Linked DNA regions of Homo sapiens: region 2 is linked to region 1. Evidence: promoter capture Hi-C in 16 types of primary human blood cells and fetal thymus (Javierre and others, 2016). All regions are on one chromosome and are shown on one strand. The core of a region is centred on a gene start or on the middle of the fragment in contact, and the rest is flanking DNA. Distances in the headings are between cores, read along the strand shown. Region 1 holds the start of ATP5MG (ATP synthase membrane subunit g). Region 2 overlaps KMT2A (lysine methyltransferase 2A).

The links. Contacts are between HindIII fragments. The CHiCAGO score rates a contact against its expected background, and 5 or more counts as called.
Region 2: a contact is called between a fragment that was not itself captured here and the fragment with the promoter of ATP5MG in region 1, in 8 of 17 cell types (activated CD4 T cells, megakaryocytes, naive CD4 T cells and 5 more). The highest score is 6.8, in activated CD4 T cells.

The regions. Positions count from the first base shown.
Region 1 is chr11:118,400,080-118,403,226 of GRCh38, forward strand. ATP5MG (ATP synthase membrane subunit g) reads left to right here and starts at 1,527. Exons shown (of 3, transcript NM_006476.5): 1 at 1,527-1,638. The coding sequence starts at 1,587. The region is part of intron 3 of LOC100131626 (a long non-coding RNA gene); the gene reads right to left. RefSeq lists enhancers at 1,188-1,267, 1,388-2,251, 2,710-3,147. The HindIII fragment of the contact is 3,431 bases long and covers 1-2,259 here.
Region 2 is chr11:118,471,634-118,474,617 of GRCh38, forward strand. It overlaps KMT2A (lysine methyltransferase 2A), which reads left to right. Exons shown (of 36, transcript NM_001197104.2): 3 at 29-2,682. Among named protein-coding and RNA genes, the nearest start is that of KMT2A, 37 kb to the left of the region's middle. The HindIII fragment of the contact is 2,178 bases long and covers 392-2,569 here.

The DNA of each region.
Region 1 (3,147 bases), core at 277-2,776:
AGTTCCACATCCCCCTTTGGTTTTCTGACTTGTAATCCTTTACAGCCATATTTCTTCACCATTCACCCTGGATTCTATCCTAATTTTTTGAAAAGGCGCTAGTTAGTTAAAGATTGCCATATTGCTAAATTAACTTTCCCATCCTTAATTTGACTTTTCTGCAGTATCTAGGGCAGCAGAATCACTCCTTCATTGAAAAGTTCTTAGTTCCTTGATTACACTTCTAATTTTTCTTTCCATCTCTCTAACCATTCCAAAAATCGGAGATTTACTTCTGCTCAGACTTCCCCAGGTTACATTACTTATAGTTCTGTTCCTCTCATCAAATGCCACTTCCCTACATACATCTTTTCCTCCTCATATTAAACTATGAAGTTTCAGCCCTCTGTAGTATACAGCTGTTCTCTTACACATCGGCTCAAGGATCTTTTCTAGGAAGTATGCTGAAATCAGCACCATGCCTAATCTGATGGAATGCCCCCTCTCTGAGTATACATTGCAACTTCAGATCTCAACTCTGCCACTTCCAAACTGTGTGGCCATTTTTCAAGCCCAGTCTCAATGGGGACAATGCCTTACAGGCTTTCTTTAAATTCCAAAATGCCTGGCATAGTGTGGGCGTTCAATACAGGTGATTTTTTCCTCACATCTGCACAGCTCCTTGTGGTTAACTAGGGAATTAGGGGAAATGGATTCCAATCGTGATACAGCACTTTGGGGAGATTGGGATTACAAAAAATCAACTTTAAAAGGGCTATGGGGCCAGGCGCGGTGATTCACGCCTGTAATCCCAGCACCAAGGCGGGTGGATCACTTGAAGCTAGGAGTTCGAGACCAGCCTGGCCAACATGGTGAAACACCGTCTCTACTAAAAGTACAAAAATTAGCCAGGCGTGGTGGCGGGCGCCTGTAGTCCCATCTACTAGGGAGACTGAGGCACAACAATCGCTGGAACCCGGGGGACAGAGGTTGCAGTGAGCCGAAGTCGTGCCACTGCACTTCAGCCTGGGCGACAGAGCGAGACTGTCTCAAATAAAAAGGGCTATGGGTTGAGCCTGGTGACAGCCTGTGTGGTGATTGCTCGGCCCCTAACTTTATATGTTTGGCCTTGGACCCTCTCTACCTCTGTACAACGATCGTGTTGGACTAGAAGAATCTCAGCGAATCCTTCTCCAGTACTGACTTCAAAGGTTCTCAGAATCGCGGCGAAAGCACCCTACGCAAAATAGCGGAGGTCGGCGCCAAGAAAAGCACTGCAGGTTCAGGGCGCATGCGCATTTCCGCTCCTTGCCGGTTTTCCGGACCTCTACGAGTGGCTGCCCCACAAAATGCCTGCTTCTCTGCGGAATCCTACTGTTCTTCACATGCTCTCTAATACCATCTTTTCATATCCACTTTCTCTTCCATGTTGAAAAATTAAATTGACAGGCTGGATTCTGCAAAGATCTTTGGACATTTAAGTATCTTCGACCGGCGCGAAAAGAGGCGGCCTGACCTTGGAAGTGGGACGGGGTCCTGCAGCGGGTCCTTCCGGCGGGTGACATTCAGCCGGCGGTTCGGGGCGACGGACTCTCCATTCCAGAACCATGGCCCAATTTGTCCGTAACCTTGTGGAGAAGACCCCGGCGCTGGTGAACGGTGAGCGCGATGTGAGACCGCCGAGGCGGGCACACGGGCGGCAGGGAGGCCTGCGATGGCCTGAGAGGAAGAAGCGGGCTGCGAAGACCCGAGGGGCCTGCGGGTGCCGGGGCGGGATGGCCTGCAGGTGGAGGGAGCAGGAAGCAGGTTGGCGACTCTTTTCTAGCCTTCCACTCGTCTGACCTGCAGATTGGGTTCTCTACACAACCTAGAAGTTCCTGAATTCTAACCACGACTGGGAAGAGAGGTAGTGTGAAGGAAGCCCGGCGTTGCCCGGCAGCTGCAACCATTACGCCCCCTGAGATCGCTAAGAGCAGGGATCTAGAGGGGATGGTTCTGTTAGGAGAGCTAAGAAAAGGAAGGGCAGAAACGTGAAAGTAAATCAATTCGGCCTCATTACATGTGGTGTTGTTCTCAGTGGAGTATTTGGAAGTCAACAGAAATGTTTAAGGATGGGTGAGCTTTTTTGAACGTTGACTTTGCTTTCTGTCCTAGACGGATTCTAAGATACTTCCGCTTTAATCCGAGGGAAATTTTAGGTGGAAATGGACTTCATGGATGAGTATCCATGCCCCGAGAAGCATAGGACGGGATCCGTATAAACAATAATCTTTGTTACGAAGCTTAGCATTCGTGGAATTTTTTCAGCTTGAAGAGCCTCACTGGTAGACCGCTGTATTTCACAACAACCCTGAATAATCACAGCCTCTGAGTACTAGTTTATTTGGCCAGTAAATATTTCAGTTGTCTTCTCAGTGGCAAGCTATTCATTTTATTCCTGAAGTGAGATAAGCTAAATTGACGTAAGTTTTTCCTAGATGTGCTGTATTCCAGTAAGTGACTGAAGGTCGGATCTCTTAACTTTTGCCTACGTTTATGAAATGTGAATAGAAAGCAGAACTTCAAAAAAAATGTAATACTTTCTAGCCTATTTTGCTGTGTTTGAGTTTGGTTTGGGTATTTTCTTTTTCTTTCTTTCTTTTTTTTTTTTTTTTTTCCTAGAAGACAGGGACTCACTCTGTCGCCCAGGCTGGAGTGCAGTGCAGATCACAGCTCACTGCAGCCTCCACCTCCTAGGCTCAAGCGATCCTCCCACCTCAGCCTCCTGAGTAGCTGGGATCACAGGCACGCACCACCACACCCAGCTAATTTTTGTATGTTTTAAGAGACGGGATTTCACCATGTTGCCCAGGCTAGTCTCTTAACTCCTGGGCTCAAGGGATCCTCCCGCCTCGGTCTCCTAAAGTGCCAGAGTTACAGGTGTGAGCCACAGCGCCAGCCGGGTAATTTATCCATTCTCTCCTCCCTTCCCTCCATCACCAGCCAAACTATGAGTTATTGAAGGCTGTCCTGCAGAACCTCACAGCCTACTAGTGAAACATTTTACACATTTTCCCAAATAATTTCATAAGCTTGCAAGAAAATCTTTTACTTTACTAAGATTGTTAAGATACCTGTCATAGAGCTCTACAATTTTATATAAATCAAAAGAGATGGCCCTGCGGCGGT
Region 2 (2,984 bases), core at 231-2,730, 72 kb after region 1:
CTCTTCATTGTTTAATTTCTATACACAGTTAAAACTAGTCCTCGAAAACCTCGTGGGAGACCTAGAAGTGGCTCTGACCGAAATTCAGCTATCCTCTCAGATCCATCTGTGTTTTCCCCTCTAAATAAATCAGAGACCAAATCTGGAGATAAGATCAAGAAGAAAGATTCTAAAAGTATAGAAAAGAAGAGAGGAAGACCTCCCACCTTCCCTGGAGTAAAAATCAAAATAACACATGGAAAGGACATTTCAGAGTTACCAAAGGGAAACAAAGAAGATAGCCTGAAAAAAATTAAAAGGACACCTTCTGCTACGTTTCAGCAAGCCACAAAGATTAAAAAATTAAGAGCAGGTAAACTCTCTCCTCTCAAGTCTAAGTTTAAGACAGGGAAGCTTCAAATAGGAAGGAAGGGGGTACAAATTGTACGACGGAGAGGAAGGCCTCCATCAACAGAAAGGATAAAGACCCCTTCGGGTCTCCTCATTAATTCTGAACTGGAAAAGCCCCAGAAAGTCCGGAAAGACAAGGAAGGAACACCTCCACTTACAAAAGAAGATAAGACAGTTGTCAGACAAAGCCCTCGAAGGATTAAGCCAGTTAGGATTATTCCTTCTTCAAAAAGGACAGATGCAACCATTGCTAAGCAACTCTTACAGAGGGCAAAAAAGGGGGCTCAAAAGAAAATTGAAAAAGAAGCAGCTCAGCTGCAGGGAAGAAAGGTGAAGACACAGGTCAAAAATATTCGACAGTTCATCATGCCTGTTGTCAGTGCTATCTCCTCGCGGATCATTAAGACCCCTCGGCGGTTTATAGAGGATGAGGATTATGACCCTCCAATTAAAATTGCCCGATTAGAGTCTACACCGAATAGTAGATTCAGTGCCCCGTCCTGTGGATCTTCTGAAAAATCAAGTGCAGCTTCTCAGCACTCCTCTCAAATGTCTTCAGACTCCTCTCGATCTAGTAGCCCCAGTGTTGATACCTCCACAGACTCTCAGGCTTCTGAGGAGATTCAGGTACTTCCTGAGGAGCGGAGCGATACCCCTGAAGTTCATCCTCCACTGCCCATTTCCCAGTCCCCAGAAAATGAGAGTAATGATAGGAGAAGCAGAAGGTATTCAGTGTCGGAGAGAAGTTTTGGATCTAGAACGACGAAAAAATTATCAACTCTACAAAGTGCCCCCCAGCAGCAGACCTCCTCGTCTCCACCTCCACCTCTGCTGACTCCACCGCCACCACTGCAGCCAGCCTCCAGTATCTCTGACCACACACCTTGGCTTATGCCTCCAACAATCCCCTTAGCATCACCATTTTTGCCTGCTTCCACTGCTCCTATGCAAGGGAAGCGAAAATCTATTTTGCGAGAACCGACATTTAGGTGGACTTCTTTAAAGCATTCTAGGTCAGAGCCACAATACTTTTCCTCAGCAAAGTATGCCAAAGAAGGTCTTATTCGCAAACCAATATTTGATAATTTCCGACCCCCTCCACTAACTCCCGAGGACGTTGGCTTTGCATCTGGTTTTTCTGCATCTGGTACCGCTGCTTCAGCCCGATTGTTTTCGCCACTCCATTCTGGAACAAGGTTTGATATGCACAAAAGGAGCCCTCTTCTGAGAGCTCCAAGATTTACTCCAAGTGAGGCTCACTCTAGAATATTTGAGTCTGTAACCTTGCCTAGTAATCGAACTTCTGCTGGAACATCTTCTTCAGGAGTATCCAATAGAAAAAGGAAAAGAAAAGTGTTTAGTCCTATTCGATCTGAACCAAGATCTCCTTCTCACTCCATGAGGACAAGAAGTGGAAGGCTTAGTAGTTCTGAGCTCTCACCTCTCACCCCCCCGTCTTCTGTCTCTTCCTCGTTAAGCATTTCTGTTAGTCCTCTTGCCACTAGTGCCTTAAACCCAACTTTTACTTTTCCTTCTCATTCCCTGACTCAGTCTGGGGAATCTGCAGAGAAAAATCAGAGACCAAGGAAGCAGACTAGTGCTCCGGCAGAGCCATTTTCATCAAGTAGTCCTACTCCTCTCTTCCCTTGGTTTACCCCAGGCTCTCAGACTGAAAGAGGGAGAAATAAAGACAAGGCCCCCGAGGAGCTGTCCAAAGATCGAGATGCTGACAAGAGCGTGGAGAAGGACAAGAGTAGAGAGAGAGACCGGGAGAGAGAAAAGGAGAATAAGCGGGAGTCAAGGAAAGAGAAAAGGAAAAAGGGATCAGAAATTCAGAGTAGTTCTGCTTTGTATCCTGTGGGTAGGGTTTCCAAAGAGAAGGTTGTTGGTGAAGATGTTGCCACTTCATCTTCTGCCAAAAAAGCAACAGGGCGGAAGAAGTCTTCATCACATGATTCTGGGACTGATATTACTTCTGTGACTCTTGGGGATACAACAGCTGTCAAAACCAAAATACTTATAAAGAAAGGGAGAGGAAATCTGGAAAAAACCAACTTGGACCTCGGCCCAACTGCCCCATCCCTGGAGAAGGAGAAAACCCTCTGCCTTTCCACTCCTTCATCTAGCACTGTTAAACATTCCACTTCCTCCATAGGCTCCATGTTGGCTCAGGCAGACAAGCTTCCAATGACTGACAAGAGGGTTGCCAGCCTCCTAAAAAAGGCCAAAGCTCAGCTCTGCAAGATTGAGAAGAGTAAGAGTCTTAAACAAACCGACCAGCCCAAAGCACAGGTACTCTTTTCCACCTTGCCTATTAAAACTAACAGTTTATTGAGCCCTTTCTATGGGCAAGTTTTAGGCTAAGTGGTTCAATTACATCCAGTTATGAGAACCAAGAAAAGTATGGTGGAGGCAGTGGTATTTGCAGTAGTCCTTCAAGGACCAGTAGGATTTTGATAGGTAGAAAGTGGCAGGACATAACATTCTAAGTAGAGGGAACAGTGTGGGTAGAAATGGAAAAGTAAGAAATATATTTGAGGAATACTGGATAGCTGGATTGGCATCTGTGGAAAACTGGTGAACTAAGGCTGAAT